Regions from separate parts of the Homo sapiens genome. Here region 2 is linked to region 1. Evidence: promoter capture Hi-C in human tissues and cell types (Jung and others, 2019). All regions are on one chromosome and are shown on one strand. The core of a region is centred on a gene start or on the middle of the fragment in contact, and the rest is flanking DNA. Distances in the headings are between cores, read along the strand shown. Region 1 holds the start of LIMK2 (LIM domain kinase 2). Region 2 has its middle 13 kb from the start of OSBP2.

Region 1 (7,438 bases), core at 3,072-5,571:
TGGCCTGCCTATGTCAGGAGGCATCTTTTATTGGTTGGTGCCTTCTTCATTGCTACCACTAAGACCTCATCTCAGGGCCCACTATACCCACCTCCAGATTGGTGGCCCTGTGCCCACATCATGAGTCTTCCTTTCTCTAAACCTACGGTGCCTACTGTAGACTAGAAACTTCCAAAATCCTCAGCCTGGCATTAAACCCTCTAGTCCGGTTGCACCCACATTCTCAGCTGTACCTTCCACTTCCTATGAATCTTCCACCTCCCAATCCTTGCCTCTACCACACGTATTTGCTACCCTTTATGAAGACCTGAAACTTGCCTACTTTTGTCTCCTACTCCCAAAGTTTCTTCCCTACTAAGATATCATCTTCCCCACCTTCTTTAAGCCTATTTAAGATTTCTCAAGTCTTACCCACTTCAAGAAGTATTCCCTAACCAAAACTGATGGCCACCCTGGATACCCTGCTATTCTTTAAACATGCCAAACACATTCCCTGACAACTCACTTCTTCTATCCCCTTACCCTACTTCACTTCTCTTCAATGGATTTATCCCTGAATATGATGTTCATACATTTACTTGCTGTCTATCTCTCCCCACCAGAACATACACTACATGAGGGAAGGGATTTGGTCTATCTTGTTCCTTGCTGTATCCCTAGGGGCCAAAAGAGTTTAGCACATAGCAGGAACTCAATATATATTTGTGGAATAAATGTTTGAAGAGAATTCTCCCTCATCTTTGAAATTCTATAATGTTATCATACGCAAGCCTTATAACAGCTTGTCTTATCAATTTTTTTCTTTTTTTTAAGAGATGGGGATCTTGCTATGTAGCCCAGGCTGGAGTGCGGTGGCTTTTCACAGGCGCAATCCCACTACTGATCAGCATGGCAGTTTTGTTTTTTGCCTTAATTACCTTAACTAGACAGTAAGTTTCTCAGAGGCACAAACTATATATAACTCATTTCCACAAATACTTATTAAGGGCTTACCATGTGCCAGACCCTGTACGTCTTAAGCAGCCTGGAATACTGGAAAGAACACTGCAGAAGTCTTACCTTGGTTCTGGCTCTACCACTAGTTGAGTGACCCTGGACAACTCCGTTTTTTTTCCCTGAGCCTCAGTTTCTTCATAGGTAAAACAAGGAGACTATACATTATCTCAAAACTCTCTCCTGGCTCTAACACCTGTTAAAATTTATAAGAGGTAAAACTTGGTCCTGCCCAGTGCCACAGACATCACAGGCACTCAGTAAATATTTGATTTGTTATCGATTCTCCGGTTACACGAGGAATCTGAGGTGTCTCAGAACATGGTTTGAATGGAATAACAAGTGAAAGTTTAAGTCCCACTTCCTTCTCAGACTCCATAGTCAACTTCATTCTGCTTTTTGTGCTACAGAGAGGAGGAAGCACTAAACTTGAAGTTGGAAAATATGAACTCTGACCACCACTGCTCATTTAGCTATGGAACCTTGTCATTTCTGGGCCTGTCTCCTCATCTATAAAAAAGCCATACTTGGCTGGGCATGGTGGCTCACGCCTATAATCCTAGCATTTTGGGAGTCCAAGGCGGGTGGACTGCCTGAGCTCAGGAGTTTGAGACCAGCCTGGGCAACATGGTAAGACCCCGTCTCTAATAAAAATACAAAAAATTAGCTGGGCGTGGTAGCACTTGCCTGTAGTCCCAGCTACTCAGGAAGCTGAGGCAGAAGATTCACTTGAACCTGGGAGGTGGAGGGTACAGTGAGTCTGGATCGCGCCACTGTACTCCAGCATGGGCAACAGAGCAAGACTCTTCCTCCCCACCCCCTACAAAAAAATCAAAAAACCATATTGACCTCCCAGCTCCAAGGCTCAAAGGCACTACATGCCTTCCTACCCTAGGGCCTTTTTATGCTGTTTCCTCTGCCTGGAATGCTCTGTGAGCTTTTTTTGCCAGGCTAACTTTTACTTATCTCCAGGGGTCAGCATAAACTTGCATTTTTAAGAAAAGTATTCCCTTCAAAAAAAAAAAAAGTAGAGGATGGGCATGGTGGTTCATGCCTGTAATCCCAGCACTTTGGGAGGTTGAGACAGGAGGATGGCTTGAAACCACCGTGGGCAACATAGTGAGACCCTGTCTCTACCAAAACAGAAAAAAAAGTAGAGAAAACCCTCACCCCTGGTGCACTCTTACAGCACTTATCTCAATTGTTTACCTTAACTATTATAGCATTTATTGCAATTGTTACAATTATTTATTGTCCATCTCTAGGATTATTAAGCACCACAAAGCCAAGAACTATGTCACCACTGTACTCAGCATTTGGCTAAGTATATGACACAGAAGAATCCAACAAATATTCTTTGAATGAAAGAAAGAATGCATAAACTAATGCATCTAGAGGCTTTATGCCTCTAGACTATTGTACTGTGAAACCTTTCACAATTTTCTAAGAAACAGGGTTCAAGACAGGCAACCTATATTACACAGCTGTTAGAAAAAGTTACTGGAAATCGGCCGGGTGCGGTGGCTCACGCCTGTAATCCCAGCACTTTGGGAGGCCGAAGCGGGCGGATCACAAGGTCAGGAGTTCAAGACCAGCCTGGCCAATATGGTGAAACCCCATCTCTACTAAATATACCAAAAAAATTAGCCGGGCGTGGTGGCGGGCCCCTGTTGTCCCAGCTACTCGGGAGGCTGAGGTAGGAGAATCGCTTGAACCCGGGAGGCAGAGGTTGCAATGAGCCAAGATTGTGCCACTGCACCCCAGCCTGGGCGACAGAGCAAGACTCCATCTAAGAAAAAAAAAAAAAAGTTACTGGAAATCATTCGAGTTGAAGGACTCTGTAAGCTTAAAAAAAATCTTTTTTAAGAGACAAGGTTTTGTTTTTAAGAGATGAAGTCTCGCTATATTGCCCAAGCTGGTCTCAAACTCCTGGACTCAAGCGATCCTCCTGCCCTGCCCTCCCAAAGTGCTGGGATTACAGGCATGAGCCACCACGCCCAGCCTAAAAAAATTTGTTTTAGGCATTTCCACCCCTAGCTCTCTCCAGAAGTCTGTTATCACCAGTGAAGAGAAAATCCCATGCTCCCTTGCTGAGGAAGTGACCCACTGGTAGCCCAGTCCTTGCATTCAAGATGAAGGAAGTGACTGTCCACAGACGGAAAGCCAGGAAGCAGGGGGCAGATAGCCAGCCCCCCTCCACCTCAATACCCTCTTGCCGCCTCTCCAAAGCTTCTGGACGCTGACCCTGGTGGACCCAGAGGTGGGCCACCCACACAGGTGGCTGGGAAACATAGGAGACAGAAGGTTCCTACTGCTGGGGGAAAAGATGGGGAAGGCAGGAAGCTGCAGGGTGGTGTGTGAGGTGGCGGGGAGGTGACTGCAGGTGCAACTAACCCAACTCTGAAGCTACCCTTCACCCTTAGACAACTCTTCCTTCCAGGAGGTGTTTGGCCGAATCCCTCTAGTCTTTAGTCTAGAGAGGCCAAGGGAGCTTCCACAGGAGGACTCAGAACCCCAGGTGGCCTACTTTCGCCACCTGTAGCAGAGATCTTTGGGCCCCAAAAAGAATGGTCCGATCTCTCCTTACCCTTAGTCCTGTCCTAAACCTCAAGGGGCTCCATACTCCCTTATTTTCTGCAAAGAGCTCCCAGCCCCGGGGGACTCCCAGACACCAAGATGCCCGCGAGAAGCCTTGGGTCTTGGCAGGGAAGTCACATCCTCCATTTCCCTCAGAAAACCCAGAACCCGGGGTAACTCTCCTAATTGTCCTGAACCCTAGAGGATCCTGTACTCCTCAAATTCCACAGAGCTTCCACTATAAGAGAACCCCATGCTTTTCAACTTCCTTAAAAAGGGTTAATTTGGGGGTCTGCGGCCGCCAGGTCCCTCCAAAAAGCTGGATTCCTGGCAGACCCAGAATCTCTTCCTCCCCGGGACCTCAACTCGCGGGAAGCCTCCCAACCCGCCTGCCCCTCGGAGCCCTCTGTCTCCAGGATGCCCTGCCTCCCCATTCCCGGAGTCCCACCCTCCAAATGCCTGGGGAGCGCTGTGCCCACCCCGCCTCCCAGCTTTTCTGAGGAGCTCGGACCCACGAGGACCCAACCAGCCCGAAACCCCCGAGAGACAGCCGGTTTCCCTCAGGCGCCATGGAACCGGACTTCGGAGATAACAGCGGGACAGGGCGGAGCAGCCCTTCCTTACCCGCCAGCGCGGACATGGTCCCGGGAGCGCGGAAATGGGGAGGAGGAGGCGGGGGACACAGCAGCTCCCCTCAGTTCCCTACAACTCCCCTCAGCTCCTGCCGCCGCCGCCTCAGGCGCGGGAAGACCACAGCCCCAGGCGCGAACGGGATGCACCGCCTACGGCGCCCTGGGAGGACCAAACCACACCTGGCACAGGGGACTGCCCGCCGACGCCCCGCCCCGCCGCTCTCAGGCCTCGCTCCCGAGACGCGGCCCCGCCCCCTGGCTCTGGCTCGGGCTCTGCAGCGGCCCTGGCGCCCCCTAGTGCGAGCGGCGTCCCCTCGAGGTGCTCCCGCCGGTAAGGTTGATTCTGCGGGGGCCGGAAGTCTCAACACGGATGACAGTCCGCACCCATCTAGTCGCCCTCATTTACAGATAGGGAAAGTTAAGGATCAGAGGCTAAGTTCGACTACATTGAAATGGCTTCGCTCATTAGGAGGAGAGCCGGGATGGGAGCCCAGGCCTGCTAACTGCCAGTTCAGAGCTCTTTCCAGTAGTGTTTGGAATCAGGAATATTACAATGGAGGAGCCAGGTCTATCCCACAAACAGCTTTGAGGATGGACTTTTCTTAGAAGCTTCTAGCTCAGAGAAACCACTTCTCTGCGCCACTATGAGTAAGCTGACAGTAAATAATCTCTAAGTCAAAGACAGTTGGAGGCGACCAACCAGCATTCCAGGAGCAGATCCTCAGCCAGGCCAATTAGGTTTAGCGCAGGACGCTGGAGCTTGTGCGCCGCATTGGAAGACGAGCACTCCCCTGCAGGAACATGGGCCTACCATTCCCAGGTCTTCCAACCTTTCAAAACATGCCAAAAATCCAGATATTTAGGTGAAATTTGCCACTTTTAAAAAATGTTGATAGCATCAAAAAGTTCTTAAAATGCCATGTAGACCAAATGAAACACACCTGGCCACTAGATTTGCCCTGTGGGCTGCCAGTTTACAATCTTCTATGAGGAGGAGGGATTACAGGACTAAGAGTTAGGACAGCTGACTGGGTTATGGCAGCTGCTAGCTGGCTGAGTAGCTTTGAGAACCACTTCCGCTCATTAGGTTTGGAAGGAGATTGGGGTCCTCTGTGTGATTAAGATATTAATACATCATCAGCCAGGCCAGCTGGTCCCTGATGACCCACCCTCCCATCAGATTCTCTCACGCTGGGTCTTTCACAATTGTCATTTCCTTACATCAGATTTAGATCACAGGAAACATGTCCAAATGACCAGAAAGAGGATGGAGCCCAGGGAAATGGATTCTGTCCCCTCCACCCCCACCCCTGACCAAAGACAAAGTTCAACCCAGCTGCCTCTGGTCCCAGCAGTTGGGTAAGCAAAGGCAAAGGCAAAGACAAAGGCGAGCACAATTCTCTTCCTTCCTGCTCTAATTCAAACCGGATGCCGGTCAGATTTTTCTCTTCTGGGTGTGGCAGGTGGCTCACGATGTCCTGAGTGTGCACAAAGTGCTGGGGAGGAGGGCTCTGTCCCATTTCCGTTAATTCCTGGGAACTCTTTTCAGTACTCAGTTTTGTAGTTTCTGAGGAAATCATTATAGTAAACACAAGATTGTGTATTGAATTAAAGTGACAGGAATCCAGAGACTCTCCTGACAAGCTGCCTCATGGCTAGCAAACAGGGGACAGGGACTTTCCCCATCCTTCCTACAGAAAGATGTAACACTGTATTTTCCCAGGCAACAAAGCACTGGCATCCTGGGAACCAAAACCTCCTGGGTGTCTTCCCTCTCCCTCCGTTCCACACCAAGGCACCCAGGTCTATCTCTTCTCCCTCCTCATTCTCTCTCACATTCCACTTCCTCCTACCTCCAGCCTCATGGTCTTCACCAGCAGGGAGCTGGGGAATAGCCAAGTCCCCCAAGTTCCTCCCAGGGAAGTTCAGGCGACTCTGAGAAACACAAGTTGAAAATGTAATGGAAGGGAATAGCTTTCTATAGAAATGCTATAGCCAAGAGATATATTTTTAATATGGACCCAAAGAACATTCCAGAAATCACTTGTGAACTCAAGGGGGACTTCTGGAGGGTAGAGAAAGCCTGGGCAGGGAGTAGACCAACTGAGTTTCAATAGCACCCAGGTTACCTGTCCACAGTTTGTTTCACTGGCCATAGCTTGGTCAGTCCCTAGGGCCAGATCCTGCCAGCCGCCTCACAGTCAACTCTCTGAGCCTAGGATCCTGAAACCTGGACCTTGAAAAACAACTCAAGGTTCTGCCCTCTTGAAGGTACTGGTCCACTGGTACCCAACCAGACTTGCCCAGTGTCACTTCCACTTGCTTCAAACTGAGCCAGTCTCTGCCCTCCCTGAATCATCCTACCCAAAACTGACTGTGTTAATCTTCCAAAAGTATGTTTCTGGACCTGTCATCTCTCTGTTCAAAACCCTTCAACAGCACCCCACTGCCTACAAAATAAAAGCCAAACCAGTCCTCATGAGCTGACTACATCTCACCCTGCGGACTTGTCTCCCTATTCCCTTCACTCCAGGACTCTGCTTTTTCCTGAGCACATCCTGCCTTGCGCCACCTGCCATTCCTACAACAACCAGCTCTCCAGGTTCTCTGTAATTTTGTGCCCCACTCTGCCCAGAGTGCAGTCTTGTTTCTCAACTCTAAATGATATAGTGGCATCTGTAACATCACAAAGTAGGACTACCAGACATTAAGTGCCTCCAGGTAAGACGCACCAAGTATATACTATCACCTATGACGTAGTCTTACAAAACAAAAATAATAAGCTTGAATCTGGTCAAGCTTCTAGATCTAACAACCAACTTACAGGAAATACATGGAGAAGAGGAGCTTAATAACATTTCCATGATGCAAATAGCAAAAATGATGCTGTGGGAAATGCAACAGGACAAATAACCTAGTTTCTTTAACAGATAAACTGCAGAGTAGAAAAAATTTCATAGACAGGCCAGGCAAGGTGGCTCACCCCTGTAATCCTAGCACTTTGGGAGGCTGAGGCGGGTGGATCATGAGGTCAGGAGCTTGAGACCATCCTGGCTGACATGGTGAAACCCCGTCTGTACTAAAAATACAAAAAAAATTAGCCGGGCGTGGTGGCGGGCACCTGTAGTCTCAGCTACTTGGGAGGCTGAGGCAGGAGAATTGTGTGAACCCAGGAGGTGGAGCTTGCAGTTAGCCGAGATCCCGCCACTGCACTTCAGCCTGGGCAACAGAGCGAG
Region 2 (7,438 bases), core at 2,506-5,005, 530 kb after region 1:
AAGAAAAGGAAAGAAAAGAAAAAAAGAAAATTACTATAAAATGCTTCTGTTTTACAAATGTTAGGCCTTTTGTATACATCACTTCCCACCCTTAAAACAACCCTGTAAGATTGGTTTCATAATCCCTATGTTTATGCAAGAAGAAATCAAGGCTCACAAAGCTAAAGACGCCTGCCCAGACACACACACACACACACGCGCACGCGCAAATGGGGAGCCAAGATTCAAACAGAAGGTTCTCTAGTCCGAAAACCTGCTCACCTGTGCAGTAAAAGAATATAAACCTGAGCCTCCAACCCCAAGGTGCCTGCCCACCCAAAACAAACCCTGCCAGACTGTCCCTGAGAGGCTCAGGAGAAGGAAACGCTAAAAGATGGCAAGGAGCAAAGTCCCCTTGGGCTGGAAGGCTCTGGAGTAGCTGGTCATCCTTGTTTTGCAGAACTGCTTACAAGCCATCACTTCCACCTGAGGTTAGCCTTGTGAGATAGCAAATATCACTGTCCCCCTCTGCCCGAGTCCAAGGTCACATCACTGACTGGATAAAAACCCAGGTCTCCCAGCTGCCATCTGGTCTTCATTCCAAAATCCAGACAGAGTCTCTTATGAGCTTGTGGCCACAGATACAAAAGTAGATGCTGATGTGTGTCTCATTTTATTCAGGAAAGGTCTGGAGTGGCTTGAGCCATACCCTGCTTCAGAACTGAACCCAAGTGGGAGTGAGGGCAGCATGCAGCTAAAGGCACAAGTCTGGAAGTTTCAAATCCCAGGTCTGTCACTTTCTGGCTATAGGCTGGAAAAAATCCTTTAAATTTTTTTTTTTTTTTTTTTTTTTTTTTTGAGACGGAGTCTTGCTCTGTCACCAGGCTGGAGTGCAGTGGCGTGATCTCAGCTCACTGAAACCTCTGCCTGCCAGGTTCAGGCAATCCTCCTGCCTCAGCCTTCTGAGTAGCTGGGACTACAGGTGCCCGCCACCATACCCAGCTAATTTTTTTGTATTTTTAGTAGAGATGGGGTTTCACCATGTTGGCCAGGATGGTCTTGATCTCTTGACTTCGTGAAGTGCCTGCCTCGGCCTCCAAAAGTGCTAGGATTACAGGCATGAGCCACCGCACCCAGCCTAATTTAACTTTATTTATTTATTTATTTATTTAAGACAAAGTCTCACTCTGTCACCCAGGCTGGAGTGCAGTGGCGTGATCTGGGCTCACTGCAACCGCCACCTCCCAGGTTCAAGAGATTCTCCTGCCTCAGCCTCCTGAGTAGCTGGGAGTACAGGTACGTGCCACTACGCCCGGCTAATTTTTTGTATTTTTAGTAGAGACGGGGTTTCACCACGTTAGCCAGGATGGTCTCGATCTCCTGACCTCGTGATCTGCCTGCCTCGGCCTCTCAAAGTGCTGGGATTATAGGCGTGAGCCACCACATCTGACCCTGTTCTAACACTTTGGAGTGATCACAAACTCACATGCCTTCAGGTACCAGGGAGATTAAATGCACTTGGATTTAGGAAGATGGCAGTGGTGGGAGCTTCAGCTAACTGCAGCTTGCATACTACATCCAAAGTACTTAAATTCATCACTATGAGAAGCATAGTGTTTGATCAAATCAACGCCCCACTATTGGCCCCAGGAGGACTAGTAATTAGTGACCTCTGCTTAGAGTGATAGTGACAGGTTTTATTTGAAAACCTTTCAGAGGAGTCAGTGATTCCTTAGTAAAGTATACAGAATCTCCAAAGCAATGTGGAGTCAGGGGGACTGCCATAGAAATTACCTGAGAGCTCCAGAGAATATGGTTGGTTCCGCATAATGCAATTTTTACAAAGAAAAGTTATCCATCCAAGCCTCTCTTTTCCTAACATGTCCAGCCCCTGCCTGGTGGAAGCTCCCTATCTGATGGGAGACGGACAGAGTCTAGTCTAGGAAGGCAGAGCTCATGTCAGGGCAGGCCCCGAAGGGTCTGAGCTGACTTTCCTCAGGTAGAAATGAGGGTAAGTCTATATTCCTTGCAGGGTGAACAGTAGAATCAAAAGTTCTGAGGTGGGCCAGGCATAGCAGTGCACACCTGTATTCCCAGCATTTTGGGAGGCCCAGGCAGGAGGATTTCTTAAGGCCAGGAGCTCAAGACCAGCCTGGGCAACACAACGAGACCCTCGTCTCTACAAGAAGTAAAAAAATTAGTGGGGCTTGGTGGCACATGCCTATAGTCCTAGCTACTTGGGAGGCTGAGGTGGGAGGGTCACTTGAGGCCAGGAGTTCGAGTCTGTGGTAAGCTATGATCACGCCAGTGTACTCCAGCCTGGGCGATGGAAGGAAGGGGAGGGGATTGGAGGGGATGAGGGAGGGATGGGGTTAAAGGAAGGAGAGAAGAAAGAATGGAAGAAAGGAAGAACAAAAGCAAGAAAGGAAGGAAGAGAGGGAGGGAGGAAGGGAGGAAGAAAGTTAGTTCCAAGGTGGAAAATCAAGAGGCCTGTTTGGAGAAATGAGAGAAATCATGGGATCTGGCTTATGGGAAGAAGTATGGGAAATCAGGTTGGAAAGGCAGGTTCCAGGGGATCAGGCCCTCCCAGCCCTCTAATATGACAAAGCTAAGGATTCTTTGGTGACCAAAATTCTTCCTGGTGACCATTTCATTCTTGTGGAGCAAGTGCACTCAGTCCCCGAGAAGTACCTGGGGAGGGCTTGGTTGGAGCCCCAGTGACCAACCATTGCTCCCCACCAGGTTCCCAACAGGCACATGCTGGCTTGGGGTGCTCCAAGGCCCCCTGGAGGATATGGATCTGTCTCAGCCCAATTTCTTTCTCCTAAAGGATTAACTGAATATGAGGGAAGAGAGTAGATCACCAATCCTCAGAAAAGGCATTTAAGGGCCAAGCACGGTGGCACATGCCTATAATCCCAGCACTTTGGGAGGCCGAGGCAGGTGGATCACCTGAGGTCAGGAGTTCAAGACCAGCCTGCCAACATGGTGAAACCCCATCTCTACTAAAAATACAAAAACAAAACAAAACAAAACAAAAAATTAGCCAGGCGTGGTGGTGGGTGCCTGTAATCCCAGCTACCCAGGAGGCTGAGGCAGGAGAATCGCTTGAACCTGGGAGTGGGAGGTTGCAGTAAGCCAAGATCGTGCCATTGCAGTACAGCCTGGGCAACAAGAGCGAAACTTCGTCTCAAAAAAAAAAAAAAAAAAAAGGTGGGGGATATATGTTACCCAGGGTCTCAGAGCAAACTGAGGAGTCATAGAAGCCGAACTCCCACCTCTAGATTATTATTCCGAGGCCCACTCCCCAGCACCAGGCTGCCTCTTGAATTGTATGTGTCAACTCCAAGTACAGCACAATTACAGTTGCCGACACAACCCCCTTCCCATTCACCCGTGAGACGACAGGTCTTGGGCTAGGTTCTTGTCAAGCTCACTGGGTTCTCAGAGCAAGCCTATGAAGTAGGTACTACAATTATTCCCAGTTTCCAGATGAGGAAGGTGAAGCTCCGAGGGGCAAAATGACTTTCTTGTGCAAGGCAGAGCTGAGATTCCAAATAGAGCCATCTGACTTCAGAGGCCATGCACATCAGATAAAGGAAGCCTCACTGCAGCAGGGAGGGACACACACAGCCTTCCAGTCCTGTGGACAGCATTTCCAGAGGCCAAAGAATTGCACAGAGAAAAGACTGCGTAAACCAGGTTCTCCCCATAAAGCCCAAAGGAGGCATCCTGCATTCAGCCAGAGGCATCAGACTCCAGCAGCCAGCGGTTTCACCTGATTGCTTTTCTTCCTACTCTGCCACCCCTGAGACTATTCAAATACAATCTCCATGGAAGCAGAGGATTTGAGTCAGTTTTGTTCACTGATGATTTCTAGCACCTACAAGAGTGCCTGGTACATATGAGGAGCTATTAATAAATAAACACATGCTGGATAAAGTGGAAGATGAGTGTTTTTTAACCATAGGGAGATTTATTTTATTTTATTTTGAGATAGGGTTTTGCTCTCACCAGGTTGAAGTGCAGTGGTTCAATCTTGGCTCACTGCAGCCTTGACCTCCTGGGCTCAAGAGATCCTCCCACCTCAGCTTCCCAAGTAGCTGGGAGTAAAGGCACATGCCACCACATCAGGGTGATTTTTCATTTTATTTTTTGTAGAGACAGGGTCTCGCTATATTGCCCAGGCTAGTCCCAAACTACTAGCCTCAAGTGATCCTCCCACCTGGACCTCCCAAAGTGCTGGGATTACTGGCATGAAACACTGTGCCTGGCCAAGCTCCTGTACAGGGGAACTTCCATTAGCTGGGAGACCCAACTTGACCCAGTGGGGAGGTGCATTTGAATGACAGTGGCTTGGGGCAGAAGCTTTGAAAATGCTGCTGGATGAGCAGACTGGATAAGGAATACCACTGGGAGTCACTTTGTAAAGTGATAAACACATTAGTCAAGTAAAACTCTCCCTGAGTGATCATTTTTGATAAGCCTGGATTTTCTGGCTTTGCTCAGAGCAGGATTTGTTCCTTTCCACTCAGCAGATGTTTGTGAAGCATTATGTGTGCAAAGCTCTGTTGCCACATCTCAGGATCTGAGAAATGGAAGGAAGTGCAGAAACCACCCACCAGCCCCACTGTCCCTGAAGAGCAAGTGGGAGAGCTGAAGCCCAGAGAGACATTACTGGGGGAGACAGGAGGTCCCAGTCCAAGGCCTGCCCCTGGCTCTGTCCCTCATAGGCCTGCAAACTTTCAAAGTCAGCTGCTGGACCAGGCCCAGAATTCTAATAGCCAGAGTAACACTTCCTAATTTAACAAAGGGCTAGGCTGGAAAGTGTTCCTGTTTCTTGTTCCTGCTAGGGGTCCCCAAGAATTAAATGACTTTGCTGGCCAGGCACGTGGCTCACACCTGTAATCCCAGCAGTTTGGGAGGTCAAGATGGGAGGATCACCTGAGGTCAGGAATTTGAGACCAGTCTGGCCAACGTGGCGAAACCCCATCTCTACTAAAAATATAAAAATTAGTGAGGTGTGGTGGCACATGCCTGTAATCCTAGCTACTCAGGAAGCTGAGGCACGAAAATCATTTGAACCTGGGAGGCAGGGGTTGCAGTGAGCTGAGATTGTACCACTGCACTCCAGCCTGGGCAACAGAGCAAGACTCCTGACTCAAAGAGAAAAAAAAAAAAACACTGAGTGACTACCCCATTTACTAGGCATTGTGATTGCAGGGATGAGTAAGTCAGCATCGCTGCCATCAAGACATTTATAACCAGACCAGGTGGCACAGCGGCTCACGCCTGTAATCGCAGCACTTCAAGAAGCCAAGGTGGGTGGATCACCTGAGGTCAGGAGTTTAAGACCAGCCTGGCCAACATAATAAAACCTCATCTCGGCTGGGTGCGGTGGCTCACACCTGTAATCCCAGCAGTTTGGGAGGCCAAAGTGGGCAGATCACGAGGTCAAGAGATTGAGACCATCCTGGCCAACATGGTGAAACCCTGTCTCTACTAAAAATACAAAAGTTAGCTGGGTGTGGTGGCACGTGCCTGTAGTCCCAGCTGTTCGGGAGGCTGAGGCAGGAGAATTGCTTGAACCTGGGAGGTGGAGGTTGCAGTGAGCACCACTGCATTCCAGCCTGGCGACAGAGCAAGACTCTGTCAAAAAAAAAAAAAAAAGATATTTACAACCTGATTGGAGCGACAGTGTGCAAACAAATGATGTTGTGCACTAAGCACTCTGTGTGAAGACGGGTGTGGGGACTCAGAAGCACAGGAAAGAATGGCCTTTTCTACTGGGGCCAGCTGTTGGCATCAAAGAAGAAAAGAGGCCTGAACTGAATCTTGGAGGATCCTTGGTCCCTGCCTTCAAACAGTGTTGGGAGAAAAGCTGAGTGTTGGGAGAGAAGCTGAGGCAGGGGTTGCATGTCTGCTAGAATTGCTGGCTCCTTGCTTCTAGCACTCCCATTATCTCAAGCAGCTATATGTTTCTCATTCACTTGATACACTGTTTCCTTTCAACTCCCACATCCTCACCAACTGTTTCTTTGTTTGAGCATCAATAAATAGCATGGGCTTCCAGAGCTCCAGGGCCTTTGCAGCTTCCACACTCGCCATGACCCCTGGTCCCACTTTCTCTCTCAAACTTTTTTTTCATTCCTTTGACTCCACCAGACTTCGTCGTCCCCACAACCTGGTGTTGGGTCTGATCACCCCAACATTCCTGGCTGCCCAACGTGGGGCGACAAAGACCCCGGTGAAGGAACACTAGAGCATGTGAAAGCGGAGGACACATTGTCACAGGACACCCAAGAACGTCGAACGTCTAAAAGAAGCTCGGCAGGAAAGCTGAGCACTGGGAAGAACCAGGGTAACAATGGGACAAAGTGAAAGCAGACATTCTGCTTATTTAGATTTCTTAAAGCATTTATTACAAAGAGGGGGGCATGAAAGTTAGTACTCACAATTTGTTAATCACTCTTTAGTACAGTAAAGCAGTTTTGCCCATGGTTTCCTGAACAAGGGACTATGGAGTTGAATAAATGGGAGAGAACTGGGGGAGACTTTAAAAAGGCATATAAAGAGGGAGCAGAAGTTCTAGTTTCCGTTTGGTCAATGTGGGTGCTAATAAAGGCAGCTCTTAAGCCATTTCAAACAGATCATGAGGCAGATTCAGATGAGGAAGAGGAGGACAAGTGTAAAAAACTAACTTCAGATTCTGAGTGTGAGGAACAGCTACCGGAGGAGATGAAAGAAAGGAAAACTGAAAAAAGTATGTTTTACTAGCCTGTCGGCTCCACCTGCTGAATTAAGTGAATGGCCACCTCCTCTCTCTCCCTTTAATGGGCAAGAAAATAAATTAGCCGAAAAACTTACTGCTTCTGTAGTTGCAACATTAAAACTGGAGCAATTGGTGGTGCTATACAAAATTCTATTCAAAAAGCTAGAGCTGAGGGAGACCTTGAAGCATGGCAATTTCCCGTTACTATAATCCAGTAGGGAGGCAGGGCTAATATAGCTAATTGGGCTACTTTTCCTTTTAAGTTACTAAAGGAATTGAAGGACGCCATTAGTCAATACGGACCGAACCCTCCTTTTGTGCAAACTTTAAAAATATGGCTCTGATAATAAATTAATACCATATGATTGGGATACGTTGACAAAATCTGTTCTCACTCCGTCTCAGTATTTACAGTTTAAAACTTGGTGGACTGATGAAGCTCAAACTCAGGCAAGGGAAAACACACAAGTGCAGCCACCTGTGCCTGTTTCCTTTGAACGGTTAATGGGAGTTGGCCCCAACTGGGGTCGATTAGAAAATCAAGCAGTAATGAAGGATGTTGCCATTGTTTAGCTGCACTTTGTGTGCTTACAGGCATGAGAAAGGATAAATGTTACAAGGGAAAAATATCCCTCTTTCAGTTCTGTCTGACAAGGACCCAAAGAACCATATATTGATATTATTGCT

The links. Contacts are between HindIII fragments. The study calls those that stand out against the background at their distance.
Region 2: a fragment that was not itself captured here is called in contact with the fragment with the promoter of LIMK2 in region 1 in 1 of the 25 tissues and cell types used here (dorsolateral prefrontal cortex).

The regions. Positions count from the first base shown.
Region 1 is chr22:31,209,181-31,216,618 of GRCh38, reverse strand. LIMK2 (LIM domain kinase 2) reads right to left here and starts at 4,321. Exons shown (of 16, transcript NM_005569.4): 1 at 4,195-4,321. The coding sequence starts at 4,210. RefSeq lists enhancers at 2,713-3,638, 4,601-4,780 and a silencer at 4,221-4,620. The HindIII fragment of the contact is 2,868 bases long and covers 3,031-5,898 here.
Region 2 is chr22:30,678,335-30,685,772 of GRCh38, reverse strand. No RefSeq gene overlaps it. Among named protein-coding and RNA genes, the nearest start is that of OSBP2, 13 kb to the left of the region's middle. The HindIII fragment of the contact is 9,026 bases long and covers 1-7,438 here.